Regions from separate parts of the Homo sapiens genome. Here all the other regions are linked to region 4. Evidence: promoter capture Hi-C in 16 types of primary human blood cells and fetal thymus (Javierre and others, 2016). All regions are on one chromosome and are shown on one strand. Each heading gives the region's core, a stretch centred on a gene start or on the middle of the fragment in contact. The rest is flanking DNA. Distances are from core to core; before and after follow the strand shown. Region 1 holds the start of LOC101927272 (a long non-coding RNA gene). Region 2 overlaps NKD1 (NKD inhibitor of Wnt signaling pathway 1). Region 3 has its middle 54 kb from the start of LINC02178. Region 4 holds the start of NKD1 (NKD inhibitor of Wnt signaling pathway 1). Region 5 has its middle 28 kb from the start of SNX20.

Region 1 (2,812 bases), core at 1-2,500, 120 kb after region 4:
GCCCAAGAGAGGCCTGCTGGGGATGTGTTGGGAGCCAACCTACCCCTACCAGCAGGTGGAACTGGTTTTGCCACTCCAAAACAGAGTTCCAGCTATGGGGACAGCCACTAGAGAGCAGAGCTAAGGGCATTCTAGGCCAAGGGGTCACAGTCCACCCTGAACTGTGCCTCCCAGCCTGAAGCCAGAAAGCTCAGGGAGGCTAGCGGCCCTGCCCAGGCCTCAGCACTGACCCTGCACCCCTAGGCCCAGCTGGATGACCCCTAAGAGCTTCCTGGAATTTGGATGCAGGGTTATTCTGTGTGTGCTGCCTCTCAGAGCATGTCACTTTGACGTGGACATCTCGGGTCTGGTTCTGGTGCTGTCCCTGTCTCGCCACGTGACCCTGGATAAGTCATCTCTCCAGGCCTTGATTTCCCCATCTGTAAACAGAGGTGAGTGAAATGATCTTTAAAGGCGTGTCAGTCCATTTTGCATTGCTATAAAGGAATACCTGAGGTTGGGTAGCTTATAAAGAAAAGAGGGTTATTTGGCTCACAGTTGTGCAGGTTGTACAGAAGCATGGCACCAGCATTGCTTCTTGTGAAGCTTCAGGAAGCTTCCACTTATGGTGGAAGGGGAAGGGGGAGTTCGTGACTTACATGGCAAGAGAGGGAGCAAGAGCCATGTCAGGCTCTTCTAAACAACCAGCTCTCATGTAAACTAACAGAGTGAGAACTCATTCATTACCACGGGGAGGGCACCAAGCCATCCATGAGGGACCTGCCCCCATGAGCCAAACATCTCCCACCAGGCCACACCTTCAACACTGGGAGTCACATTCAGCATGAGATTTGGAGGTGACCACCATGCATCCAAACCATATCAAGGACCCATTTCGGTGAGGGGACCAGGAACATATCCCTTCCCCTCTCCTCCACATCCTTTAATGTGGAGTTCAGCAAGGAAAGTAGGGCTTGGGTCAAATTAAAGCCTGGTCTTAATTTCCTGGTCCAGTTATTAGCTGTGTAACCCTGGGCAAGTCACTTAACCCCCTCAGGTTACAATGTTACAAATGATCACATTTTCCTCAACTGAAAAATGGGATAGGAACATGTCCCAAGCAGAGCTGGAGTGACGGTGCTATCAATGGCCCGGCAGTGCCTGGTCACACAGTAGGCCTGGGGAGCCCTGACTTTTACCGCACAGGGAGCTGCTTGCAGAGCTTGTTTTCAATTGTGGGCTTGGCAGGGAACTGCCGGCATCCCAGGGGACAGGGTCTCATGAGGATGCCTAATCCCAGCTCAAAGTGGAGACCCCAGGACTCCATCACAGCCAGTGGGGGGGAGTGGCTGCTGCAGCAGGGAGGGCTTCATTGGAATGAACCCCTTTAAGCTCCAGTCCAAATGCCCAGAGTGGTTTTGCAGGTATGGTTGTGAGGCTGGCATGGTAGTCCCATCTGCAGTCCCCTGGGATGAGGCACCTGTATGGTAGAGGGCCCGGGTGGAGAGAAGAGAAGGATGGGGATGAACCCAGGACCACAGATGGCCCAGTTCCATGGATGATTTTCATTGAGGTGCCTTCAAGTCAGTTCAACACTGGGCTTCTCAACCTTTGAGGTATGCAGGTAAGAGTCACCTGCGGCAGTGGGGGATGCTCTTGTTAAAGTGCAGACTCCGATTAAGCAGGTCTAGGGTGGGGCCTGAAATTCTGTGTTCCTAACAAGGCTCCATCCTGGGTATGGAGGTCAGGTACCCCCTCACCTCTCCTGTGGACCCAGCTTTTGAGGGGTCAGGAGAAGAATGTTCAGTCCCAGCTGCCACCACTCTAAAGTCCCCTAGAAACAAGGACTAATACAGGTGGCGTGGGAGAGGGCCCAGGCAAACAGGGAGGTGGGGTACCCCGGTGGGGCTGCAGTGGGCCCTGCGGAAAGCTTGCTGGAGGTGGGGGCCTAAGGAATTCAAGGACTTGTTCCAGGAACCCAAGGAACGAGTGGGCTCTAACTGCTGCAGCATATGGGAGATGCCAGGAGGAGCTGGCTGTGGCAGGCCATCCCAGTCCATCAGACAACTTGTAGTGGATGAAGATGCAGTGTCCATGGCCAGAAGAAACTCCCGTGGATGCTCAGGCCAAGGCTGCCAGAAGCACGAGGAGGGGCAGCATTGAGTGTCATCGGGAAAAGGCAAAGTGATGGTCCTGAAGCTGCCCCATGTGGCCAGTCCCTTTTTGGGAAGCCTGAATAAATCCATTTCCTGTGCACTGTGTGGGAAGCCAACCCCTCTTCAGAGGTACTTATGGGGAACCCCCCATGTGATTCTATAGGCTCCTTTACTCCCATATAAGTATTTTCTCTCTGTGTGCACCCCCCGCCCCACCCCCCCAACACCCCACACATATCATCTATCTGTGATTTTGAGATGACTTTTTTTTTTCACATTTCAGCACCTCTGAACTCAACAGGATCCTACACTTCTTATAGGCCTGGCTTGATGCTGACATCCTTCAGCCCCAGGGAAGACCTAAAGATCTCCAGGTCTTGAGGCACCTGGAACACCTCCACCTGAGACCACTTTAACATGATTTCTCTGCTTGAGGGATTTTGGACCATGCTGTGTGTATTCAGCCCTAAAACATGGGCGAGTGCCCGCTTGCAGTTCAAATTCTCAGAGGAAGTTCCCTGTACTCCACCCAGTGCCAAGTTTAGTTTGTGCAAATTTCCTTAATGTCCCCTCCTGTACAACAGGCTTATTTGGTGTTAACCCTCATATCGGGGGTCTAACTCTTTGCTTTTCCAGCTTTTGTGCTGGAATATCCCATTAAACTGTCCATGTTGGGT
Region 2 (2,848 bases), core at 161-2,660, 74 kb after region 4:
ATCCTCAGGAAAATAGTGTCAGTAGGTCCTGGGATTTCACACTCACCCTCCCACATTTCCTGGCAGGCCACACACAGGACCGTGACCTTTGGCAGAGAGGGGAGGACCTGGGGTGAGCAGAGGCCAAATGCAAGGTTCAGGATGAGCGTGCTCCCTGAAGATGCCTTTTGTGTATGTGTGAGTGTGTGTGCATGTGTGAGTGTGCATATGTGTGCAAGCAGGTGTGATGCATGAGTGTACATATGTCTGCATGTGCGTGTGTATGTGTGTCCATGTGCGCTTGTGCATACATGTATGTGGACGGTGCATGTGTGCACTTCTTTGCCAACCCAGTTGAACTCTGTTTCTGGCACTCCTCCTGGCCATCCACCAAGGTGCCGTAGGCTGTGCTCAGGTGGGTGGCACCTTTGAGGAGGCCAAAATGTCAACACAGAAGGCAGTGAGACTGCAGAAAATGGCCATGGTCCCTAAGCTCCCTCGCTGGGCTCCAGAAGCACCCCTCCACTCTCATCCATCTGCCCTCTGGCCTGACACTGCTCTGGGTGGCTGTGTGCCTCCATAGGGCAGAAGTCATAGGCTGGTGGGGGCCTGAGGGGGCCCCCCACGGTGCAAGTGGGTGCACCATGTTGGGGGAAGGTCTTCCCAGGCAGTACCAGGTGCCAGAGTAGTGTGATGTTGACCCCAGCAAATGGGCAGGGCAGGAGCGGGCCCAGCCCCCTGGCGAGAATGTCCAGGCCAGGCATGGAGGACAAAGGTGCAGTGAGCATGGCTGCCCGGCGTCTGGACCCTGCTCCTAATGCTCCCTCGCCTGCCTCCCCGACAGTGGCCCTGCCTCCTGAGAAGACTGACGGGCTGGGCAGCGGAGATGAGAAGAAGATGGAGAGAGTGAGCGAACCCTGCCCAGGCTCCAAGAAGCAGCTGAAGTTTGAAGTAAGTTTCCTTTTGGTGCTGGGTCCTGAGGAGATGAGATGGGTTTTCTCAGCTTGGGGCTTTGGGAGGAGGGAAGCTGAGGCTCTTCCAGACAGGAAGGCCCCTCCCCTGCATGAACAGCACCCTCTGTGGGAGGTTCCTTCTGCCACATCTGGGGCCGTCCTGGCTCAGGGCAGACCCCAGGGACTCACCGCTGCCCACCCCCTCAGCCCAGCCCCAGCCCCTCCATGCGGGCTGTGCCCAGCAGCTTGGGAGAGGGCATGAGAGTAGACGAGGGAGGCAGGACTCTGGCCCTTCTGTTGCTGTCACCTCTCTGGGCCTCAGTTTCCTCGGTGAAACCTTCCCTTCCAACTCTTGAGGCTGTTCTGGGGGTGCCTGTGGGGGATCTCAGGTGGGATGGATGAACAGGAGGTACGGGCAGGACCCTGACGCTCTCTGGGCCTGAGTTTCCCCATGTGGGCACCACCAAGGATGTGCCTCCGTGTGGCTCTGTGCAGTGCTTAGAGGAGGGAGTAGCAGCTGTGGGCAGAGGTTGGTGAGGCTCTGAGCGTAGGGGTAGGAGTTGGGAGAGGGATGTACAAGGGAGTCTTTGGGAAAAGAAGGGCCTTTGGGGTGAGAAGGGGACAGTTGAGTGCCCCAGACCCAGTGGCTGCACAGTCTGTTCCCCACCGCCTGATAGTGTAGCACGCTCCTGTGCCCCCAGCACAGTGGCCAGTGCTGAGAGCCAGGCCCAGGCCTGCTGCATGGAGCTTCCCCACTGCTCTGCCCTCCTTGCTCCCTCCCTCCTTCCCTCTGTTTGCCTTCCTGAGACCACCAGGGCATAGCTCTAGAGTCAGCAGGCCTGGGTTCAAATCCTGGCTATACACTTAGTAGCTCTGAGACTTTGGGGCAAGTTCCCTAAAGTCTCAGTGGCCTCACGTGCCTCGCCTGTAAGGTGGGGATAATGGTGATGTCTGTCGCATTGGGCTGTTGTCAGCAGCATGAGTTCGTGCGCCTAAAGGTCTAAAGTGCTTAAGAGGGTGCCCCTCTTTCTCACCAATGCTGATTGGCACCGGCTAATTGCCAGGGTACCCAGCTTAGACTGGGTGTGGTTCCTGCCGTCAAGGAGTGCACAGTGTGACCAGGGGACAGTTGAGCGCCCCAAACCCAGTGGCTGCACAGTCAGTGATGAGATGAGATCTGGGAGCCTGGAGTGGGGTCAGGCCGAGGGGTGTGGGGTAACGGACACTTGGCATTTCCAGGCTCTGTGCGGTGCCTGGAGGAGGGAACAGCGGCTGTGGATAGAGACTGGGGAGGTGGGTGAGGCTCTGAGCATAGGGGTAGGAGTTGGGAGAGGGGTGCACAGGGGAGCCTTTGGGGTGAGAAGGGCCTATCAGGCAGAGGGAGCTGCAGGAGCAAAGGCCTGGAGGCTGAAGTGCCGGCGTGCTGTGTGGAGAGAGTGAGTGGCGTGATGTGGCCTGTGCTGGATGGTGGGACATGGGGGAGACGCCCTGTGTGCAGGGTCTCTGGTGACCGATCTTACCCCCTTTCCAGTGTCATCTCCCTGCCATGCCCCACCATCCTGCACAGGCCACACCACACAGCTTGTTCTCCCCACACAGCACAGGAGCACTCCAGCCTCCAAGAGGCTTGAAGGCTCGCCTGAGGAGGATAGGTAGTATCTAGTAGGAGTTAGGGCTGCCAGCTTCTTCCTGGAGCCCAGCCCCGCCCTAAGCCCACCTGGGTCCTTGTAGGGTCTTTTGGGGAGCTTGGCAAAGCCCAGGGCTGAACTCAGTGGCAGAAGGAAGACCAGGCCCAGGCATCCTGCCTCCCTGGAAGCCCAAGTGCGCTTGCTTCTGGAGGGGCAGACTTGGGACTGAGCTGTGGTCCATGGGCAGGACTCAACTGAGCTGAGAAGCCCAGGTGGGGTGTGGGAGAG
Region 3 (2,700 bases), core at 21-2,520, 99 kb before region 4:
TTTCTCTCCCCTCGCTCTCCACAGTGCTGCCCATTGGCCAAACCAACCCAGAAACCAGGTGGCCAAGAAGTCCAGGGAACGTCACTCCTGGATACAGAGCAGAGCGTAAGGGCAGAGATAAGACCCGATATCAAACGGGCAGGTGACTGGCACAGGAAATTCACATCACTAAGGAGGATCCAGCACTAAGGGTGGTAACAGCAATCACTGATTAATGGCATCACTCGGGGCTTTCCCTGCAGTGGTGCCCTTGCACCCGGGAGAACTCGCTTACCGGTGAGGAAGTGAAGGCACAGTGCTGTCTGCATGGTCACTTAGCGGGGAGGGGAGAAGCGGCTGTCACCCTGCCTCCTGCTCTGGACTCCGCTGTCCCTTTCAGGCTGCAGATGCCCTCCAAGGCTGGTCTCCACTGGTCCTTAGGAGCATAGGCTCTGGGTTGAGTGATGCCTCCCTCTGACAGCACCGCACATGGAGTGTGGAGTTCTCAATAAAGGGTAGTTATTAACACGTCCATGGCCCCATCTTACGGCTGAGAAAATTGAGGTGCCAGCAGTTATGGGACACCCCCTCGCCCCCGCCAGGTTTCCTAGCTAGCTGGTGGCAGTGCTGGGAGCTTGAATCCATCACTTCTGGCTCCAAAGCGATTACTCTTAACTTCTGGGGCCCCTGCCCAAGCCAGGATACACCCTGGCACTCCTTCTTGTGGCCACTGTTGGGATCCACACCCAGGCCCCTCTCTGGCTCATTAACTCTGCCAGGACGGCTGGGCTGCCTGGGCTCAGGCGTGACCCACACGCCCAATTAGAGGGATTCAAAACGCCATTTACTTATCAATGACCTAAGCTCATTTGATTATGAAGGATGGAGCCCAAACTGTTCTCTGAAGCCACTGTCGTCCCTCAGCTGTGCCAAATCCTCCCTTGATCTGCTAATCCTGAGTTTATAAGGTTAGGAGATAAGCAGGCGGAACGCAATTCTTTTCTTTTTTGGTCCACCTAAGTGGCCATGAAACCCCTAACCATCATAGACCTCTCGGGCCCCTGTGGCCTCCCTGTCTGAATAATTCAGACGGTGTGTGAAGGAAGCCCCCACAGTCCTGGTACGCACAGGCCATCTGGGGCAGGCACTCCCCACCGATCAGCCTGGCTCTTCCTTCTCCTGCTCTTCCTTTTTTTCCCTCCTCTTTCTTGTACTGGCCTTTTTATGCTCACCTCAGGCTTGGGAAAGCCAGGCAGCCAGCCCAGCCGGTGACCCCGCCGAACCGTGGGGACCTGCTCCTCCTTGCGCCCCCTTTTGTCCCAGGCACAAATAGATCCCTCCGCCTCAAGCCCCATTGCGTGATATTCACCATGAAGAGGTGATAGACCCTGTCCCTAAGACATTTCCATTCTAGTGGGGGACAAGACTTCAGCCACTTGAGCCCAAACCATACTTAGGGTGTTCCTGTGGAGAAAGACCCCAGGTGTTTACAACACAATGCTCGCTGAAAGAGCTGAGAGACTCCTCAGCCGGACAATGGGGGTGTCAATCCCAGCTTTCACCAGCTGTGTGACATTAGGCAACCAGTTAGCCTCTCTGAACCTCTGTTTCTTCATTAATAAAATGGGGATAATGAAGGTACCTGTCATCACTAATTTAATTCTCACAATAAGAAGCAAATGGGGACACCTACAGCCTGGTACAGAATAAACCCTTAATAAAGGACATTGGTGATGACTTTTGTTCTCTATAACTACGAGGACAGCTTATACCACACAGCATTTCCCACACGCCCATTCTGCAGTGGATCTGTGGCTGCTGTCTGTCCTCACAGATCTCAGACACGAATTGGGAGGACCCTACCATGTTTCTCATGCCAATGATGGGAGAGAGATCCCGGGAAAAGGGATTGAGATCCATATGGTGGGTGGTCTCAGGGAGACATTGCCACGTGCTCTTGCAAACAGCTCTGGCTGTCACTCAAGCTACAGACTGACGAGGGCTACAGGGGAGAGCTCAGCAGGTCAGAAGAGGCCCGGGCCACTTTGAAGAGAAACAGTCTCATGGTTCAGCCCGAGCCTGACAGGTTGGAGAGCTGGGCCTGGAAGGCAGGTGGCCTGACCTATTTAACATGGAATTCATGCTTTAGATGCAAGAGGCTTTCAAGGGTAAAAGCTGGACCCAGGGGAGAAGAGAGAGGCTGAAGCAACATGGCCTGCTTGCCTTCCGCTGGGGGGTGGCAGAGAGGGGGTGAGGACAGGAGCACTGCTTTGGAGTCTGGAGGCTGCTTCTATCCTCATTCTACTTCCTACCAGCTCTCAGTCCTTGGCCGATTTGCCTCACCTGGATGAGCCCCCCTTGGCCTGGCGCCTGCCTCTCTGTTTTTCAACTTTGAGTTCCTTTGAGCTGAGATAGGTTTATTCATCTCCGTATAACCCACATGTCAGTAGAGATCACCCCATTTTTAAGAGGTTCATGAAATAGACATAAACTCTGTGTTCACATCTTGGGGTACAGGTGACTAGTGACCAAGCCAACCTGAGATTTCTGCCGATGTCTGTGTTCACGCCTTCACAGTCACTTTTAGCTCTGCCTGCTGCTCCCCTCCAGCCATCATCTCTCCTCCATGACTGCTTCTTTTCTCCACTCTGTACTGGCTCCGAAGTGGACCCACACTCTTTCCCCACATCTCCGTCAAACACCACTTGCACAAGTGATTCC
Region 4 (2,780 bases), core at 240-2,739:
GTGTCTTTGGGGACTGGTTCCAGGATCCTAGAGGATACCCAAATCCCCAGATGTCAAGTCCGCTATATAAAATGTCCTGTAGTATTTGCATATAACCTACACACATCCTTCTGAATACTTTAAATCATCTCTAGATTCCTTGTAATTCCTAATACAATGTAAATGTTATGTAAATAGTTGTTATACTATATTAAAAAGTTTTTTATTCTTTATTTTTGCTGTATTATTCTTTTTGCATATTTTCAGTCCACAGATGGTTGATGCCACAGATGTGGAACCTGTGAATAAGGAGGGCTGACTGTATTGAGTTAAGCGAAATATATTATTAATATTTCATCTATTTCTTTTTACTTCTAAAAGATGTGGCGACAAGAAAATTTAAAATTACAAATGTGGCCCACATTATATTTCTATTGGGCAGTGCTGCTCTAGAGAGTCGGCAAAAAGGGCAGAATGGAGCCTCCATTATACAGATCACAAAACTGAGCACAGGTAATTCACTCCAAAGGTCGGGGCTGGTCTCACTCTGAGCTGCGGGTTTTCTTTTCCCACGCCAGAGCTGCCTGGTGCCAGGACGAGCGTAACACGGACCCACAGTGTCCCCAGAAGGGGGCAGGCGTTCTGAGAGCCACAAAGGTGGGGTGGAATCCCTTGATGTCGACCGCCACCATCCCCCTCCCCCCGCGCGACCTCCCCGCAGAGACCTCCCCAGACAAAACAAACAAACCCTTGGGTCTGGCGAACTGCAGCGGGGAGCGGAAACCAAGGAAGATCAAAGACTCAGCGGTTACCCCCTTCCGGGCCGCGCAGTTTGGCAGCGCGCCCCGACCCGGGCGGGCACCCACGGGCCCCCGGACGAGGAGATCCCAGAGACTGGCTGATAACGGGGCGCTTTGGACATTTGTCGCTGCCTGGAGAGGGCTGGGCTCACACTGGCCCGGGGTGCGCTGGGGGCTCCTCCTGGACTCCCCAAATAAGAAACTAGAGGAGTGCGGTGGTGGGGGGCGGGTCACGGGGCGGGTAATGAACACTTTCTGCAGAAGGTAGGTCGTGGGAAGACTGGGAAAAGGCAGCGCTGCCGAAGCTTGCACCTGAGCAGCTAAGGTCTCCGCTCCCGACCTCAGTTTCCCCACCTGTAAATTGGAGCCGCCGAGTCCCGCCCTGCCCGTTTAGAGAGAACGTGGAGCGGAGGGAAGTGACAGTACAGTTAGCGATGGCCGGGCTGTTCTGTCCCAATACGCCTCCTGGACAAGCCGCCCCGCCGGGTCGCCAGCCCTGGAGCTCGGCCCCCGGCCCCAGACCGCGGCAGGGAGCGCGGACTGTGTCCCGCCCCTCCCGTCAGCGCCCCGCCCTCGTCCCCGCCCTGCCCCGCCTCCGGCCCCGCCCCCGCCGCAACCAGCCTTGCCTTTGATGCGCCGCACCGGCCAATGGGCGCGCGGGGAGGCGCGGGCCGCGGCGGCGGGCTGGGGGCTCGGCGCTCCCGGGCGTCAGTCGGGCCGCGGCGACGGCGGCAGGAGCGCGTCCCGGCGCCGCCTCGGGCTCCGCTCGGCTCGGGGGCTGCTTCGGGAGGAGGAGAGCCAAGGGAGGCGCCAGGCCCGCGGGCCGGGCGCATGGCTTAGGGACGCTCCCGGCCGCCGCAGCCCCAGCATGGGGAAACTTCACTCCAAGCCGGGTCAGTGCCCCCGCCCGCGCGCTCGCCCCGGGCCCCGCCGCCGTCGCCGCCGCGGTCGCTAACTCTCTCCCTTCCTTTCTTTCCTTCTCCCGCCGCCGCGGCTGCCGCCGCCGCCGCCGCCTCGCGATGTGCCTGCAGCCGCCGTGTGCAAGCGCAGGGAGAGCCCGGAAGGTAGGGGCGCGCGGGGCGCAGACCTCGGGGATGGACGCGGGGGACACCGCGGCCGCGGCAGAACGGCCCAGCCCGCCAGGTCTTATGACCAGGGCCACCCCGAAGCCCCAGTTCCGGCCACCGGCCCCCCAAGCCCGCTCCCTGAGCAGCCTTCGCGCCCCCTCCTCTGTCCCTCCTACCCGCTCCCCGCGGTCCTGCGCTCCCACCGCTGACCCTCAACCCCTCCCCCTCCCGCGTCCCTGCCCTCGGCTCTCACGGCACCCTCTCTTCAGACCCCCAAGCGCCTCCCCGCAAGACCCTGCCCCCTCTTCCTGCCCCCCGGCCCTTCTTCCGATATCCTGGCTCCTGCACCTACTGCGGCCCCTCTCCTGACCCCCAGCCCTCTCCTCCGCAGTCCTGGCTGCCAGTGCTCCCTGGTCTGATCCTAAACCCGTCCTCCTGGGGTACTGCTCACCCCTCTTGCCCCCTTCTGGCTCCTCGCTCCTAGGGCTTCGCTGAACCCCCCTTTACTTACCCGCGTCCCTCTCTTGGCTCCTGCCCCAGCCCGCGAACCCCCTCCTGGCCCCCGTGCCGTGGTCCTTCGCCTCCCACCGCGCCTCCTTCTTCCCTCCGCGGGGGTAACTTTTGGCACCTGGAGCCAGACTCAGGGGCTTCATGTCGTCCCCGTCCCAGGTGACAGCTTCGCCGTGAGCGCTGCCTGGGCTCGGAAGGGCATCGAGGAGTGGATCGGGAGACAGCGCTGCCCGGGCGGTGTCTCGGGACCCCGACAGCTGCGGTTGGCGGGCACCATAGGCCGAAGCACCCGGGTATGATTCCCCACCCCTGCCCCACCTCCTGGCCTCCTTTCAGCCTCAGAGATGGGTCCCCAAACCCATGCACCCCAACTTTGAGCACTTTCCTGCACAGCTTCTGGGTCTGAAAATCTCTTCTCAGCTGC
Region 5 (2,786 bases), core at 111-2,610, 110 kb after region 4:
TCTTGGGCATTAGATGAGCTGAGTTGAAGGCTCAGCATGGCCAACAATTTGCTCTGCAGTCCTGAGGAAACCGTTTCCCCTCTGTGAGTCTCAGTTTGCCCGTGTCTGCAATGGGGTTAATTACATCATAAGACACCGGCTGTTGTGAGCAGCGAGATAATCCCCAAGGCTGCTGACAGTGAGAAGGAGGGCTGCCTAGGGTCCAAAGAGATGCAAGAGGCAGTGGCCAGTTTCCTGTCCACATCATCCCCCCAACACATACTGGTTCAGATTCAGTTCCATCTGAGCTGGGCTCCAGCTTGACCAGGTACCATGATGGCAGCTGCCGCCTCACTTCCAACACCATCTCCCGGACCACATGCCTGCTCACAAACCCTTTGGAATACTTCGGAGGCCCTCAGTGGCTTCACGTCTCATGGCCGAGGGTGGATTAGGCGGGGTGCCTAGATGCGGGGAGGACAGGCAGGCCTTCCCTTAAACAGTCAGCCAAGCATCACATGCCGCCTGTCAAAGGGGGGTTTCAGATGCGGGGATTATGAACACCAAGAGTACAATTTCCTGATAAAATAGAAGAGGCGATTAAGTTAATGAAGGCTCATTTTGCTGATTTGAAAACTATAATTAATAGACATTAATTGTATATTTAGAAGTTTAGTGTGGCGTGGGCTCAGGAGCCGTTGTCAAACACAATGACGTTGTAAGTACTGCATAATAGACCGAGCCCAGATGTTCCCCGAAGCCCCTCACGAGAGCTTTGCAAGGGGCTTCTCTAATGATAAAAGCTGCCTCTTGCTGTTCTGCTCTTCCTTTAATGACATCCTTTCTGAGACGATGCTTATCACTCGTGCTTTCATCTTTGGTTAAATAGCATATGGCCTCAGCTGATTAAAAACCCCTCCTGGTTTTAATCAGCAACTCGGGATCAGGTTTCTAATGGTGGCCGTGGTGGCCTTACCAGTCCCATGGTAAGGTTTTTGACCACATCTACATGTGGAGAAAGGGTGGTGGGAGTGAGGGGCTTGGAGCTGGCCCTGTCTGGGTCCTGGGTTGAAGGACAGCTGCTGTGGCCCTCCTGGAATGACCTGAGCCAGGGCCAGTTCCAGGGATGCCTTGGGGATCAGGCTGGGCTAGTTCAGGCAGTCTTCAGGGGACCAAGTTGGCTCAAGGCCAGGCCCGGCTCACCTTGGCTGTGGCTGGAAAGTTGGACTCTCAGATCCCCTCCTTCTTAGCAAAAGCTTCAATGTTTGAGGCAAACTCTGCAGGGTCCACCCAGCTAAGGAGGAAGAGGAAGGGCCACAGAAGAGACTCGAGCGATGGAATCAGATGATGGAGCTTGAATCCTGGTCCCACTGCCTGGTGGCTGTTTAGGCTGCACCAATTGGAGACTTGCTTTCTCATGATCATCAGATGACCTCTGTTAAGTCTCTTTTTATCCCCATTGTACAGATGAGAAAACTGAGGCTCATTCCAGGGTTGAGAGCTGACTAAGCTTGGTCTGTGAGTCAGGAAGGATGGTGATGCTCACAAAAAAGGGACACAGAAATGGGGGCCAGGAACTTTGAGGAGGGACTGTTCAATCCCCTCCCTTCTCCGATATGAGCCCCTTAAGGAATGGGATGGGACCATGTCTGTCCTGGTCATTATGGGAGAGCCAGTGCTGAGCACAGTGCCAGGTCTATGTCAGGTCAGTCCCCAACAGGTGTTTTGAGAGGTAGTGATCCCATGGGAGGTAGCAGAGTGGACCGCAGCTGGTGGCATCCAGCAGGCAGGTGACAGATTTCTATTGATCGCTGGCTCTGCACACACTCCCCCTGCGCTCTAGCTCCTCCTGCCTGCATGGGATCATAAGGCTCATTCTGGCCTATGGCTGGGAGTGGAAGTGCCTGGATGAAAGTATTTAAGAGCCAGTTCGTGTCTCTTTAGTTCTCTCTGCCCCTAAAGCCTCATGTTGACATGGCACAGCTGCAAGAGAGGAGGAGCCTGGTTTGCTGAGCTGTGGCATGGAAGAAAAGCGTCTTGGTTACAGAAATCAGCTGGGTGTCAGTCCCAACTATTCAGGAGGCTGAGACGGGAGGATCACTTGAGTCCAGGAGGTCGAGGCTGCAGTGAGCCGTGATTGTGCCACTGCTCTCAGGCTGGCAACAGAGTGAGACCCTGTCTCAAAAAGAAAAGAAAAGAAATTATCCTGGAGAGTCGCCTGCATTGCCCTGGACTTTGTGAGCATGAGAAGTACCCTGTGATATGTGAAGCCATGGAGAGTTAAGGTTATTGTCTGTATGCAGACTTACATTCCTGCCACAGAACCCAGCCCATTCTGACTACAAGGCAGAGTTTCTGAACTGGAGTTAGAGAGGGAGGGAGGGCTGGATTCAGGGATCTGGCTGGTGTGATCCTAGTTTGACAGGCTCAGGGTCATCTGGTCAACCCCTGCCTGGCACCCACAGCCCCTGGGCCATCCCCTCCTCTCTGTGTGCCAGACAAGGTAGGCTGTCGTATGGGGTCTCCTTGGTGGAGGAGGGTCCTCAGGAGGAGGCCCAGGAGAATGGGCCTGGAGGGACTTGGAGGTGGTGGCCCTTCCTTGCTTTGCCACCTTGCTTGATACAGGCCTGTGGGGAGAAGTGCGGGGGTCCTTATCCAAGCCCAGCCTCTGTAGCTGTGAAGGGTCCCCTAGACACTTGTGAACAGTATATTCTGGGCCCCCCACATCTGTTCTCAATACTAAATAATTTGTTTTCTTCTCTGAGCATATTTAATTCATTTAATGTCTGAGGCAGTGGCGCTCAAGC

Evidence for each region. Contacts are between HindIII fragments. The CHiCAGO score rates a contact against its expected background, and 5 or more counts as called.
Region 1: a contact is called between a fragment that was not itself captured here and the fragment with the promoter of NKD1 in region 4, in 9 of 17 cell types (non-activated CD4 T cells, naive CD8 T cells, total B cells and 6 more). The highest score is 11.5, in non-activated CD4 T cells.
Region 2: a contact is called between a fragment that was not itself captured here and the fragment with the promoter of NKD1 in region 4, in 7 of 17 cell types (non-activated CD4 T cells, naive CD4 T cells, naive CD8 T cells and 4 more). The highest score is 16.8, in non-activated CD4 T cells.
Region 3: a contact is called between a fragment that was not itself captured here and the fragment with the promoter of NKD1 in region 4, in 1 of 17 cell types (naive CD4 T cells). The highest score is 5.3, in naive CD4 T cells.
Region 5: a contact is called between a fragment that was not itself captured here and the fragment with the promoter of NKD1 in region 4, in 13 of 17 cell types (non-activated CD4 T cells, naive B cells, naive CD8 T cells and 10 more). The highest score is 15.9, in non-activated CD4 T cells.

Annotation. Positions count from the first base shown.
Region 1 is chr16:50,668,730-50,671,541 of GRCh38, forward strand. It overlaps LOC101927272 (a long non-coding RNA gene), which reads left to right and starts at 126. Exons shown (of 3, transcript NR_110908.1): 1 at 126-431; 2 at 1,954-2,264; 3 at 2,419-2,812. It also overlaps a transcript of SNX20 not described here. The HindIII fragment of the contact is 1,314 bases long and covers 594-1,907 here.
Region 2 is chr16:50,620,779-50,623,626 of GRCh38, forward strand. NKD1 (NKD inhibitor of Wnt signaling pathway 1) reads left to right here. Exons shown (of 10, transcript NM_033119.5): 5 at 824-930. Among named protein-coding and RNA genes, the nearest start is that of NKD1-AS1, 8.6 kb to the left of the region's middle. RefSeq lists enhancers at 1-91, 142-649. The HindIII fragment of the contact is 9,441 bases long and covers 1-2,848 here.
Region 3 is chr16:50,447,946-50,450,645 of GRCh38, forward strand. No RefSeq gene overlaps it. Among named protein-coding and RNA genes, the nearest start is that of LINC02178, 54 kb to the left of the region's middle. RefSeq lists a silencer at 633-927. The HindIII fragment of the contact is 8,671 bases long and covers 1-2,700 here.
Region 4 is chr16:50,546,907-50,549,686 of GRCh38, forward strand. NKD1 (NKD inhibitor of Wnt signaling pathway 1) reads left to right here and starts at 1,490. Exons shown (of 10, transcript NM_033119.5): 1 at 1,490-1,672; 2 at 1,811-1,843; 3 at 2,516-2,649. The coding sequence starts at 1,648. RefSeq lists silencers at 1,133-1,582, 1,623-1,812. The HindIII fragment of the contact is 5,196 bases long and covers 1,083-2,780 here.
Region 5 is chr16:50,652,388-50,655,173 of GRCh38, forward strand. No RefSeq gene overlaps it. Among named protein-coding and RNA genes, the nearest start is that of SNX20, 28 kb to the right of the region's middle. RefSeq lists a silencer at 1,987-2,167. The HindIII fragment of the contact is 254 bases long and covers 1,234-1,487 here.